Regions from separate parts of the Homo sapiens genome. Here regions 2, 3, 4 and 5 are each linked to region 1. The links are contacts of gene promoters, found by promoter capture Hi-C in human tissues and cell types (Jung and others, 2019). All regions are on one chromosome and are shown on one strand. The core of a region is centred on a gene start or on the middle of the fragment in contact, and the rest is flanking DNA. Distances in the headings are between cores, read along the strand shown. Region 1 holds the start of THBS2 (thrombospondin 2). Region 2 has its middle 130 kb from the start of LINC01615. Region 3 overlaps LOC102724357 (a long non-coding RNA gene). Region 4 has its middle 66 kb from the start of LINC02519. Region 5 has its middle 61 kb from the start of LINC01615.

Region 1 (2,700 bases), core at 121-2,620:
AGTTCTGGATGCCCAGCTTCATAAGGACAGGTTAGAAAAACTAAATCAAACTCCTTTGACGAAACCAGATCCTACTGTCTCTGCCTTGAGGTAGATTCTTACAAGAGCAGGAGGCTAACAAAGCATCCCCTGCTGCGGATTGTCAAAGGACAGTGAGGCTCCATCCCACAGGAAGGATGAGCAGCCAGGCTACCTGGCCTCAGCCCATCCAGGGACACCGGGCATGCATGGATGGAGCCACGGATGAGCCAGTGCCGCTCACCCCTGCCCCAGCCTCTGCACGCCACACATCCACGTTTATGCTTGTGTTTTTCCAAAAGAAAGATTTCGGTGCCTGTCTGCAGCAGAATGTAGTTTGAATTTGCAAAGGTCTTTTAAAACTCTTTTCGTATGAACAATCAAAGTAAAAGATAGCTTTGCAGAGAGCTAATTGTTTACCGGCCGTCCACCACCAACAGCAGTCTGATTAAACACCAGACTCCTGGGTGCTCAGCTCCCAGTCCTGGGCAGCCAAACCCACCTTCCTTAAGTGGTAGCCAGGCAACCTGCCAGCTCGCTTTTCATATGCAAACTGCCCCAAGACTGTTAAAAGTCGCTGTGTGTCCCGGCAGTCACAGGATTTTCCATAGACTTACCACAAATACTCTCTAGTTATGTTCAAAACCACTTTTCAGCTGCTAATAATGTTAACAATCAGAGTCTCTCTTTAATCTACTAATAATGTTAACAATCAGAGTCTCTCTTTAATCTACTAATAATGTTAACGATCAGAGTCTCTCTCTAATCTACTAATAATGATGTTAACAATCAGAGTCTCTCTCTAATCTCCAGTTACTTTTCAGATATTCCGGGAGTTGTTTCTAATTCTCTCCTCAATAACAAACTCTCATGTGGAATCTTCTTCTTCGGAAACTGAAAACATAAAGCGTTTACCCGGGTTCCCAGGCAGGTATATACATTGAAATAGCAGCAGCCACAACCCTCAGAGAGGAAGGGGTGCCCGGCTGGTGAAAGCACAGCCACGGAGGAAAAGCTGAGGAGCGGCCACGTGCCTTGCTCTTCAAGCGGGCAGTAGAAACACCACGTGAAGAAACACTTGCCATTTAGTGTTAATAGATACACCACCCACCTTAAGTTAAGAATCGAAATTGCTCCTTTTTCTTCTCCGCTTCTTAGAGTTCGAGAACTCTAATTTCTTAAAATTAGAGCACCATTAAATAATTGATTGAGTTTAAGAAATAATCGTACCTGGTTTGCCAAAAAGATGCAGTGATGACTGGTTTCAGTGTTCCGGACCGAGTCAGAAAGGCGCAGGCTCTGCTGGAGCGAGAGACCGGCCCTGCAGTGCAGGATGCTCCGGTGGACGTGGCCGAGCGGCTCCCGGGCAGCGCGGCTTTATATGCCGCTTCTCCTGTGCAGGGCTGTCAATCAGACACACGAGGAAGCACGTTTAATTCATTCCTTCGAAGGAATGACATCATCCCCCTTCTGATCTCACCATTTGCTCCGAGTACCTGCTGCAGGGGTCCAAGTCCAGCCCCTCTGTACTGGATGCCGTCTCCTCCTCCTGCACCCCGGCCCCTGCCAGACAGGCCTGGGAGGAGCCAGACGGAGAGAGGGAAGGCAGGGACTCACTTTTCCTGTCTTCTCTCAGGAAATAAGATGCTATAAATAACACTAGCAAGATTGGCTAGAACTCCTCATTTTGCTTAAGAGAAAAAAATGCAAGTTCTATGCCTTAAATATGTTTCGAATTACTCAATGTGATATTGGTCTTTCTAAACCAAATGAGTGACTCTCAATAACACATGAAATACATCGGTGAGTATCAATAATCAGTCTGTATATTAATAAAGTTATTATGGTCAATAATCAAGTGTATTATGTGACAAAAATGAAATTTAATATAAAAGGAAGTTGCCAACATTTATCTCAGGCAGTTAGAGGACTGAAAAGCTGTACTGCAGCTTTGGGAAAATTCATTTTTACCCAAATTCTGCTTCATTTGCTCAGTGAGGATCCCCTAGAAGGACGTCTCCCAGTGGACGTGCAATACCCGTAGAAGGGTGTGTCCCAGTGGACGTACAGTACCCGGCCAAGTCCCCTTGGTGCACACTTGCACGTGGCCCCATCACAGGAACAACCTGACGTGCAGGCACAGAGCAAGGACTCGAGAGAACGAGAAGCAGTGGCAGCAGCTAACCCCCGCCCCTCCCACACCTCAGGCATCACCCGCAATCAGGGTGCACTCTGCATGGGGGTGGGGGGCACCGCTTCTCAGAGGTCAGGGTGGACGATGGATGCGGAGGGGCTGCTTCTCCCAGGTCAGGGTATACAGTGGAAAGGGGAAGCTGCTGCTCTAAGGTGGGGGTTGATGGTACATGGGGGAGGGGCTGCTTCTCCCAAGTTGGGCTGGACAGTGGATGGGGGAGGTGCCACTTCTCCCAGGCCAGTGTGAAAGGTGGATGGTGGAGAGGCTGTTTCTCCCAGGTCAGTGTGCAAGGTGGCTGGGGATGTGTTGTTTCTCCCAGGTCAGGGTTAATGGCAGACAGGGGAGCTGCTGCTTCTCCTGGGTTGGGGTGGACCTTGGATGGGGGAGGTGCTACTTCCCCAGGTGGGGTGGATGGTGACTGGGGAGCTGCTGCTTTGCCCGGAGCCACCTGCACCTGCTTCATGTCGGCACCTGCCTGTCAGGTTCCT
Region 2 (2,700 bases), core at 75-2,574, 220 kb before region 1:
AAGACAATCATTAAATTGGCTGGAGAAATCTGCAAATACAGCAAATGCTATTTTTGTCCCAAGCTCGAATAGATCATGGCTTTTCCTAATTTAAACATCTCTGGTAAAATAGCTGAGTTTGAAGTCCAAATGTGGCAGATGTCTAAATAAGTTCTGTGCCTGTGTAAAGAATAAGCTGCCATGCAGGGGAAAATGCCTCTTCTGTCGGCAAGAAGTGGTTTCTGCTTTGGTGCTGTTCCCTGTGTCTGCATGTGCAGGAGTGACTTTGTGCACCTCCCTGGGTTTCTTCACCCTCCTGCCCTGTGGCTGAAGGGAAGTATGCCTGAGCGAATTCATGTTGCCCTCCCCGTTTTGTCTCATGGATCATGAGTTCAGACCTAGCACACTGTGCAGCACCCAGAAGCACAGTCCTGCTCAAAATGCTCCTTTCCACCGACACTTATCTCCCCTGCCTCTGACTTCCTCAGCATCACCGCTCCCTGCAACAGAGCCAGAGCTGATTGAAAAACACTTAGGTAAATATTGAGTTCCCCAGTCTGGGGCGATTAGAATTGTCATCTTCCCAATTCTGTGAAGAAAGGCATTGGTAGCTTGATGGGGATGGCACTGAATCTGTAAATTACCTTGGGCAGTATGGCCATTTTCACGATATTGATTCTTCCTACCCATGAGCATGGAATGTTCTTCCATTTGTTTGTATCCTCTTTTATTTCCTTGAGCAGTGGTTTATAGTTCTCCTTGAAGAGGTCCTTCGCATCCCTTGTAAGTTGGATTCCTAGGTATGTTATTCTCTTTGAAGCAATTGTGAATGGGAGTTCACTCATGATTTGGCTCTCTGTTTGTCTGTTGTTGGTGTATAAGAATGCTTGTGATTTTTGTACATTGATTTTGTATCCTGAGACTTTGCTGAAGTTGCTTATCAGCTTAAGGAGATTTTGGGCTGAGACAGTGGGGTTTTCTAGATATACAATCATGTCATCTGCAAACAGGGACAATTTGACTTCCTCTTTTCCTAATTGAATACCCTTTATTTCCTTCTCTTGCCTAATTGCCCTGGCCAGAACTTCCAACGCTATGTTGAATAGGAGTGGTGAGAGAGGGCATCCCTATCTTGTGCCAGTTTTCAAAGGGAATGCTTCCGGTTTTTGCCCATTCAGTATGATATTGGCTGTGGGTTTGTCATAGATAGCTCTTATTATTTTGAGATACGTCCCATCAACACCTAATTTATTGAGAATTTTTAGCATGAAGGGTTGTTGAATTTTGTCAAAGGCTTTTTCTGCATCTATTGGAAACTACCATCAGAGTGAACAGGCAACCCACAAAATGGGAGAAAATTTTCACAACCTACTCATCTGACAAAGGGCTAATATCCAGAATCTACAATGAACTCAAACAAATTTACAAGAAAAAAAAAAACAACCCCATCAAAAAGTCGGCGAAGGACATGAACAGACACTTCTCAAAAGAAGACATTTATGCAGCCAAAAAACACATGAAAAAATGCTCATCATCACTGGCCATCAGAGAAATGCAAATCAAAACCACAATGAGATGTGTGGCCATCTCACACCAATTAGAATGGCAATCATTAAAAAGTCAGGAAACAACAGGTGCTGGAGAGGATGTGGAGAAATAGGAACACTTTTGCACTGTTGGTGAGACGGTAAACTAGTTCAACCATTGTGGAAGTCAGTGTGGCGATTCCTCAGGGATCTAGAACTAGAAATACCATTTGACCCAGCCATCCCATTACTGGGTATATACCCAAAGGACTATAAATCATGCTGCTATAAAGACACATGCACACGTATGTTTATTGTGGCATTATTCACAATAGCAAAGACTTGGAACCAACCCAAATGTCCAACAATGACAGACTGGATTAAGAAAATGTGGCACATATACACCATGGAATACTCTGCAGCCATAAAAAATGATGAGTTCATGTCCTTTGTAGGGACATGGATGAAATTGGAAATCATCATTCTCAGTAAACTATCACAAGAACAAAAAACCAAACACCGCATATTCTCACTCATAGGTGGGAATTGAACAATGAGATCACATGGACACAGGAAGGGGAATATCACACTCTGGGGACTGTTGTGGGGTGGGGGGAGGGGGGAGGGATAGCATTGGGAGATATACCTAATGCTAGATGACGAGTTAGTGGGTGCAGCACACCAGCATGGCACATGTATACATATGTAACTAACCTGCACAATGTGCACATGTACCCTAAAACTTAAAGTATAATAATAAATTAATTAATTTAAAAAAAGAAGTTACTGAAAAATAAAATAAAATAAAATAAAATACTCTAAAAAAAAAAAAAAGAATTGTCATCTTCCAAACCTTAGACATGGCCAGACATCCCCAGTGGGCTGCCAAATCCTGTCACCGTGTGCCTTCCTTAATCCAACCAGGAACTGTGTTTTACCTTTCTACCCCACACTCCTCCCAAGATGCTCAACCTTGGTTTCATCATTGTACAGATGGCTGCAGACTCAGTTGTCCAACATTCCCCTGGGGTGAGCTGATGACCTGAACCCTAAGAACGCTCGATTTGAGAACAATGTGATTTAGTGTTGTTTTTAAAGACACTAAGTTTTGCGGTGCTTTATGAAAAGCAATGGCCAGCTTGGAGAGTGAAGTGGCAATGGGGGTCATTGAAGCTCAACTGCTGTGGTCTTCCCA
Region 3 (2,756 bases), core at 122-2,621, 180 kb before region 1:
ATTAGAATATAGAAATATAAAAACATACATTAGAATATAGAAATACAGAAACAGATTCCTTTGCTCAATTTGGTTCACATATGAGATTTCTGTTCTTTCATTAAAAGCTCATTTCCTACACAAAATTAACATAATTACTTATATTTTTATCCTACAATGATATTCTGAATTGATTTTGCAAAATACTTAAGACCTGTCTTCTACCTTGGTAAGTAAAAAAAAAAAAAGTTTGTATTGTTTCAGCATAATCTGTAGGTATCTACGCAAAACCTACTCACGAGGCTAACTTCAGAAGGCTCATTTTCACCTCCCTATAAATCTGATTTCCTTTGTCCACTGACTCAGGCAGTTCCAACCCCCATTTTATAAGACACTTTCACCAAAGAACCAAAATGTCAGACCAAGTAAACAGCACCACGGATCACTTGCTTGTCATAAACGCAGCCAAAATGGCATTGCTGCTACAATGGCTATTTAAATCTGCTGTTTTTCTTCCCTAGATAAATCTAGAAAAATCACCATGTTCTTTGAGGGAAGCTGAGAGGGAAAACCAAAAAAGTACAAAACCAGATTCAGAAGAGAAAGGAAAGATTATCTTGAGTGAGGTTGTCCTCCAAAGACAACTCTTGGCAGAGGCTGGTGGTACGGGGAGACGTCAAAGCCTCCATGTTCAGGCGTCCAGGGTCCCAGCCTCTAAAACGGCTTCTGCCATCCATGGCCGCCAGACATTATTTTTGACTAAATTCCATACTTTTTTATCTGAATTGGCTTTTGCACATGAGACAGGCAAAGGGTTTAAAAATAGTTACACCATAGTCCATTGACTTCTCATTTTTATCACTTACACGGATAAGTCATTTTTAAAAATCAAGGGTATCTTTTTGATGTGCACCTAGCATTTGCGTGAGGGTGGTGTGTTAACACTGGAAAATAGGGCTAATTCAGACTTCCTTGTTACCGGGCCCCAGTTTTTAAGTGATCTGGAAGTCCTGAGTGGATTGTGTATCCACTGAGCTACTGCCCATTGTCTGGTAGTTCTCAGAGGACCGTGCAGAAACTGATAGGAAGTGAAATACTATTTGTGTTCGCTTGTGTAGGTGAATACATCTCCAGGATGAGGCCACCCATTTTGGCTTCCACTAACCCGGAGGAACCTGGAGCAAGGAAACCAAAGGAAGTATTCAGGAAGCTTCAGATTTGACTGCTGGCATTATAGGCAAGAATTACACACACATGACTTACTGTTCACTATTGGTGAGAACTCGTGTTCTCATTTCGGGCAATGTTTAGAATGAAGCTCCATTAAACATGCTTGCTCCGAGGAATATCCTTAGAACGGCCATGCTTCTTATTGTGATTGTTATGTTATTTTAAGGTAATTCTTGCCTTTTGGCTGGTTGATTGCATTCTTTAGTTTGAGGCTATGCTTCTGACCTCATTACTCCAATGTCCATCTGCGTCAGCGTCACCTTGACAACAAGAGCAGGGGATGCGTCTTGCATGAGTGGGTGGCCAAAGAGACAAACCTCTGGCTTTCTGGGAGCTCCTAGCGTTCTCCTTGAAACCCTTAACACATATGTGTTTTCTCTGCTCTACATTAGATCTCTAGACTTATCCTACAAAGCTGAAACTGTACTGTTTGACCTACAACCTCCCATTTCCCAGGTGTTCATTCCTGCTCCTTACACTGGTAATTTGCCAAGAGAGTAAATTTTAGGTTACCTTACTGTGATGGTTAATACTGAGTGTCAACTTGATTGGATTGAAGGATACAAAGTATTGATCCTGGGTTTGTCTGTGAGGGTGTTGCCAAGGGAGATCCACATTTGAGTCAGTTGTCTGGGAAAGGCAGACCCACCCTTAATCTGAGTGGGCACCATCTAATCAGCTGCCAGTGAATATAAAGCAGGCAGAAAAACTTGAAACGAGAGGCTGGCCTAGCCTCCCAGCCTACATCTTTCTCCTGTGCTGGATGCTTCTTGCCCTTGAACATCAGAATCCAAATTCTTCATTTTTGGAACTTGGCCTGGCTCTCCTTGCTCCTCAGCCTGCAGACCGCCTATTGTGGGACCCTGTGATTGGGTGAGTTAATACTTAATAAACTCCTCTTTTACATATACATCTATTGCATTAGCTCTGTACCTCTAGAGAACCCTGACTGATACACTTACCATGCCCGCACACACACAGCAACTGTGTGAAATGATGTCCGCATTAATTGGCTTGACTGTAGTCCTTGCTTCCCTATGAGTGTGCATGACCAGATCACTGGATCCAAACAGCGTGTCACACACCTTAAATACATGCAATACAGTAAATTAAAACTATGACGTTCCCATGTGTTCTTAGCATGATGAAAAAGAAATGCCAGATTCACAGTGTGTTTTCTGGGGAGAGCAAAGAGGGGAAATTTATGTGCCAAACTGGAGTCCCTTAAAAGAAAATGAATTTCAGATATTTCAGCCTGCTCTCACCAGGAGGGGTTCTCTGCTAATAATTGTGAAGGAACGCGATAGTCAGAGGCACAGAGGGCCTGAGTGCAGCTTTAATAACTTTGGACAGGACCTGGGTCCTGAGCGTGAGTCACGCTGAGGTCGCTGTGAACGGCTGAGCCCTGGGCTGTGAGTCAGCCCCTCGAGGCGCATGATACAGCTTCAGGCTCCACCAACAGTAGGTGCTTAGAGACTCATGGGCTGCTGGGTTATGACCGAATGAATCAGCCTGAGGGAGAAGATGGTTTTACGACAGAAAGTGGG
Region 4 (2,700 bases), core at 77-2,576, 200 kb after region 1:
CGGCCCCCAGGCCTAGGGCTGATCAGCGTGAACAGTACCCAGCACACTTGCTTCAAAAAGTAAGAAGATATAGAACACAAGCTGCTTGTTCTCATGACTATAGCACAAACTATAAAACAAAACATCTTCCTCCAGAACACGGCAAGCTGGATGGACAGTGATCTGGACAAAAATTTGCTGTAGGTTTTGTAACTGGGGTTCAGTGAGGACCAGGCTCCCCAGAGCATACATGTGGAGACAATTAAGTTGATCCCATTTTCCAAGACTCAGAGGAGATGTATTTATATTAGGAATATAAACTTGCTATTAATGCAACTTCAGAATGTCCAGGTCATCCGTTGGGAAAAAAAAAAGAGTAAGTCTAGGGCTGGTTCGTGCTGTTGCTACATGGAGGGAATCCACATCCAAGCCTGCCGCTCACATGCTGGGACACATTGCCTCAGCCTCCATCTCTGGGAGTCCCACGCTTTCTCTCCTGGGTTGTCCCACTATTCCTTTTGAAGTCCTCATGTTAGTGACAGTTCAATTTTCTCTTCACCTTCAAAATTGCAGAGAACCTAATTTCTACTGACCAGTCAAGCTTGTTTCATTTATCTTCCATGTTAACTTCAATTAAAATGTTAACCATCTGGAATCTTTGGCCTCTTATGTGACAAAAATAGGCATTAAATTGTATCATTTCTTAAATTCTCTGTTGAAAAGTCCAAATACGTTACTGAATATGATACAGATTAGTAAGAATTTGGGCTCATTAAATGTAAGATAATTTCATAGCTTAAGGTAATTTCACACCCCAAGGGACTTATAACCTAAACACAAAGCAGATCACCAACATTAACTGTCAGCTGTCCACTGGAGAACTATCTCAGACAAAAAAATAAAATTTGGATTAGCTCTCCATGGTGCACAATACTTTCATGAACCATCTCTTTTGGGTTGGCAGCTGCAGTGTGTTCTGAGAGTATGTTAATGCTACAATAACAGTAAAAATAAAATTAAGTTGGGAACATACAGAAAAAAAGAAATTGATTACATTATTCCTAATGACGACCTGAATCAAAGTTGGCACTAAATAAATTTTTGTCAGAAAGGAGAAAAGAAATGAGAGAAATAAAAGAGAGGAGGCAGGATTTTATATTCTGCTCCCTTTTTGGAAAAACATATTTGTGTGAGCTATATGAAATTGCTATTCAAAACCATTTGCATGTTGGTCATTGGGTATGGCTCAGTCTAGTCTTATCACCACGGAGATATCTGCTAGGTATCTGAGAAAGATTTCTTGGTGGTCCTGTCAAACGGTGAGTTGGTGCTGCCACCTGGTTCCTCCAGGCTGCTTGACCTGCATGTGGGTACATGACTCACACAGGTTATCTTTTTCTCCATTAAGTAGCCAATCATTTGCCAAACAGTGATAACAGCACCTTTACTCTGAAAACACCCAGGCGTCCTCCTTCAATAAGTCTGAAATACACACAGTTTTCTTTAAGCTAAGGAAAAAGAATGAGCTCCCACATCTGCAAAGAATGCCTTAAACAGAATGTCAAAAACGAACAGATATTGTTTATTCCAGCATGTTCAGACCACCCCCCTTGGTGGCCAGACTTGGGACCACGATCACATTCTTGCTTTGTTGTCTAAAGAACATGGACTTGCCAAAGTTGTGCAAGCCCCATGACATGTGCCACATGATATGAATCATCTTATCACGCAAGCACCAGAAGGAATCTTCACAGCCTGTAATCACGGAGACAGCAGGCTAGACAGAGCCGGGGCTCATCCTTCCTCCCCTGCACATCCATGGCTGGGCTGCCAGGGCTGCAGGTGGACAGCACTTGTCCACAGGTGTGTGCCCAGCCGTGGGCTCCTCACCAGCCTGTGTCCACTCGGTTGGTGAAGCAGGACCACCACAGATCAAGAAAGCTGTCCTGGGGCATGGGTGAGCAAAGACTGCGGGCTCTGGTACCAGGCGACCCGGCCTAGTGTCTGAACCTGGACTTTCCTTGAGACCTGAGCGCCCTGGCCTGCAGCTGAGCCCTCCCGGACACCCTGGCTGCTCTGTCCTGCGTGAGGTGCAGCTGGAAAGCCTGGCTCAGTCCTCGTCACACAGACCTTGGAAAAGGCCAGGGCCTCTCAGCCTGATCAAGTCGACAGACTTTGCACGGGAGCAGTATGCCTTTAAATGGATTTTCCAAGACAGAATGTCATGGCTTCTCTCTGTGGCACAGCTCTTGATAAGTATTTGGAAAGTGAGGCTAAGAATAACAACAATGCCTATCAAACACACAGGTCTATTAGAACAATGAGACGATGAATTGGAATCAAGTGAAAACTAAAAAGCTCTACATAAACATGTTATTTTTATTACTACCTTTTGATGAAGGCAGAGCAACCAACCAGTTTTACGTTACAACACACTGTTCACTACTTCAGAACATTTCATTATGGATAGAATAGTACAGATAAAAAATAAACATGATACATCCCACCATTAGAAAGGCAGATCTCTAAGGCATCCACTCACAGCACCACCTACTCCTCCTCTGAGTGGTGTGGGGAGCACTGCTGATCGGAACCAGGCAGGGAAGCCTCTTGAGTCTACAGTGGCCAAGTCCTTCACCCCAGGCCAGAGGCCACACCAGAGCCCTGCCCTCCATGCCCCCTGGCTTTGTTCTCTGCTTTCCTGGCTGCTGTCTTCCTAGA
Region 5 (2,700 bases), core at 157-2,656, 150 kb before region 1:
AAACTTAAACACAGTGTGAATAATTGGATCCCAAGATGGCAGGGGCCAAGTGGTGGCACTCAACCATCAAAGGCAAGGTGGGTGTAGCTACTATAATGGACAGCAGAGACAAAGCAGCAATCAGAATAGTCTAATTCATGTAGAACTCTGGCATTGACTAATTAATCACAGTATTCTTAGAAGTAAAATTGATAGGAAGCCTTAATTCCTACTTAATTTGTATAAGCAGAAAACTTCCAGGTTGAGTAAACAAAAGACTAATTTGAATTATAAAAATAGAGAATCATGGCCCCTCAATCTATTTCCAGACTTGAACCAGTTTTCAGACCCAGAACCTTTTGAATGAAGGAGAGGCCAGGTCCCCTTGAGGAAGGACCCTGCTACACTACTGACAATTTATACTGTTAATTTTTCTCCCATCGTACCTTGGTCTTTTATCAGGGTAACTATGCACTGGGGAAAGAGAAATGATCAGACCTCTCAGGGACTACTGGACCCTGGCTCTGAGCTGATGTTGATTCCAGGGGATCCAAAATGTCATTGTGGTTTGCCAGTTAAAAGTACAGGCTTATGGAGGTCAGGTAATTAATGGAGTTTTAGCTCAGCTCTGACTTACAGTGGGTCCAGTGAGTTCCCAGACTCATCCTGTGGTCATTTCCCGAGTGCCAGAATGCATAATTGGCATAGATATACTTAGCAGCTGACAGAATCCCCACATTGGCTCCCTGACTGGTAGAGTGAGGGCTATTATGGTGAGAAAGGCCAAACGAAGCCATTAGAGTCATTAGAGCTGCCTCTACCTAGAAAAATAGTAAATCAAAAACAATATCATATCCCTGGAGGGATTGCAAAGATTAGCGCCACCATCAAGGACTTGAAAGACACAGAGGTGGTGATTCCCACCATGTCCCCGTTGAACTCTCCCATTTGGCCTGTGCAGAAGACAGACAGATCTTGGAGAATGATAGTGGATGATCGCAAGCTTATCCAAGTGGTGACTCCAAGTGCAGCTGCTGTACCACATGTAGTTTCATTGCTGGAACAAATTAACACATCTCCTGTACCTGGTATTTAGTCATTACTTTGGCAAATGCTTATTTCTCCATTCCTGTCCATAAGGCCCACCAGAAGCCATTTGCCTTCAGCAGGTAAGGCCAGCAATATACCTTCACTGTCCTACCTCATGGGTATATCAACTCTCCAACTTTGTGTCATAATCTTGTTTGCAGGGCTCGTGATCACTTTTCTCTTCCACAGGATATCACACTGGTCCGTTACATTGATGACATTATGCTGACTGGACCCAGTGAGCAAGAAGTAGCAAACACACTGGACTTATGTACTGATCCATGGACTATAGCCAATGGTTTGGCTGGATGGTCAGGGACTTGGAAGAAGCATGATTGAAAAATTGGTGACAAAGAAATTTAGGGAAAAGGTATTTGGATGGATCTCTCTGAGTGATCAAAAACTGGGAAGATATTTGGATCCCATGTGAGTGCTCATCAATGGGTGACCTCAGCAGAGGAGGATTTTAATAATGAAATGGATAGGATGACTAATACAAATGTCATGTAAAATTAAAATTAGCATTAAGTGCAAAGAGGGCAGCAAAACACATCCAGACTGTTCCTCTTCCATCAGCTGACACAAACTTCAGAAATACCAGCTGTGGCTGGGTGTGGTGGCTCACATCTGTAATCCCAACCTTTTGGGAGGCTGAGGCAGGCAGATCACTTAAGGTCAGGAGTTTGAGACCAGCCTGGCCAACATGATGAAATGCTGTCTCTACTAAAAATACAAAAATTAGCCAGGTGTGGTGGCGGGCACCTGTAATCCTAGCTACTCAGAAGGCTGATGCAGGAGAATCATTTGCACCCAAAGGGCAGAGGTTGCACTGAGCCAAGATCATGCCACTGCACTATAGCCTGAGTGACAGAGCAAGACTCCATCTCAAAAAAAAAAAAAGAAATACCAGCTGTGAATAAACATGTATTTACATATTGGTTTTTTTGTTTGTTTATAATACTTAAAATATATAAACACCTTTCCCTTCTGAGAAGAAAAGATGAAAGCCTATATTTTTCACATTATACACATGTACATACAAATACAAATATATATGTGTTTTTTAGAATTTTGGAGGCACATCATGGGATTTGGTGTAGTCTAGTTTGGTCAATTGTGATAAGATAAGCATCTTGGGCTGGATAACACCAGACACCTTTCCTGTGTCCCTTTTATTATCTGAGTTGGCATAATAAGGTAAAGATATTAGGATTTTAAGGAGACTGTGAAAGACTATTTTATAAAATCATGGTAGAAGTTTCTCTCACTGGAGTAAACTTGGGAACTGTGACAATTTGACAATGAGCCCCTGGAACATGAAGGGAGATTTGTCCTTCAAATCTTATAAGAACAGTGATGGTGCATAAAGGCGATGATCCCAGACTTTTAACAAGAGGACAAGAAAAACGTGCCCCTAGTCACCATGGAGTGTGAGGAAAGTCTCAGAGAGGAGATATCTGGAGAAGGCTCCCCTTAATCTATGTGCAAGTTCTGGGCTCACTGCAAAGCTATGCATGCCTGGGTCTGACCCAAAGCAGCCCAGCGAAGGCTGTTAGAACCAAATGACAGGATTGAATGCTCCAGGGCCCAGCTGGCCCAGCATGGTGCACACTTCAGGAGGACCTGAATAGA

What was found. The method cuts DNA at HindIII sites, captures the fragments that hold promoters and counts their contacts. A contact is called where the count stands out against the background at its distance.
Region 2: a contact is called between a fragment that was not itself captured here and the fragment with the promoter of THBS2 in region 1, in 5 of the 25 tissues and cell types used here (H1 embryonic stem cells, aorta, bladder and 2 more).
Region 3: a fragment that was not itself captured here is called in contact with the fragment with the promoter of THBS2 in region 1 in 1 of the 25 tissues and cell types used here (mesendoderm cells).
Region 4: a contact is called between a fragment that was not itself captured here and the fragment with the promoter of THBS2 in region 1, in 1 of the 25 tissues and cell types used here (IMR-90 fibroblasts).
Region 5: a contact is called between a fragment that was not itself captured here and the fragment with the promoter of THBS2 in region 1, in 2 of the 25 tissues and cell types used here (H1 embryonic stem cells and IMR-90 fibroblasts).

Annotation. Positions count from the first base shown.
Region 1 is chr6:169,252,476-169,255,175 of GRCh38, forward strand. THBS2 (thrombospondin 2) reads right to left here and starts at 1,371. Exons shown (of 22, transcript NM_003247.5): 1 at 1,249-1,371. RefSeq lists enhancers at 1-445, 446-957. The HindIII fragment of the contact is 15,923 bases long and covers 1-2,700 here.
Region 2 is chr6:169,031,107-169,033,806 of GRCh38, forward strand. No RefSeq gene overlaps it. Among named protein-coding and RNA genes, the nearest start is that of LINC01615, 130 kb to the right of the region's middle. The HindIII fragment of the contact is 5,289 bases long and covers 1-2,700 here.
Region 3 is chr6:169,068,092-169,070,847 of GRCh38, forward strand. LOC102724357 (a long non-coding RNA gene) reads left to right here. Exons shown (of 2, transcript NR_134619.1): 2 at 1,098-1,333. Among named protein-coding and RNA genes, the nearest start is that of LINC01615, 94 kb to the right of the region's middle. RefSeq lists an enhancer at 1,723-2,756. The HindIII fragment of the contact is 4,836 bases long and covers 1-2,756 here.
Region 4 is chr6:169,453,046-169,455,745 of GRCh38, forward strand. It overlaps a transcript of WDR27 not described here. Among named protein-coding and RNA genes, the nearest start is that of LINC02519, 66 kb to the left of the region's middle. The HindIII fragment of the contact is 5,881 bases long and covers 1-2,700 here.
Region 5 is chr6:169,100,616-169,103,315 of GRCh38, forward strand. No RefSeq gene overlaps it. Among named protein-coding and RNA genes, the nearest start is that of LINC01615, 61 kb to the right of the region's middle. The HindIII fragment of the contact is 7,926 bases long and covers 1-2,700 here.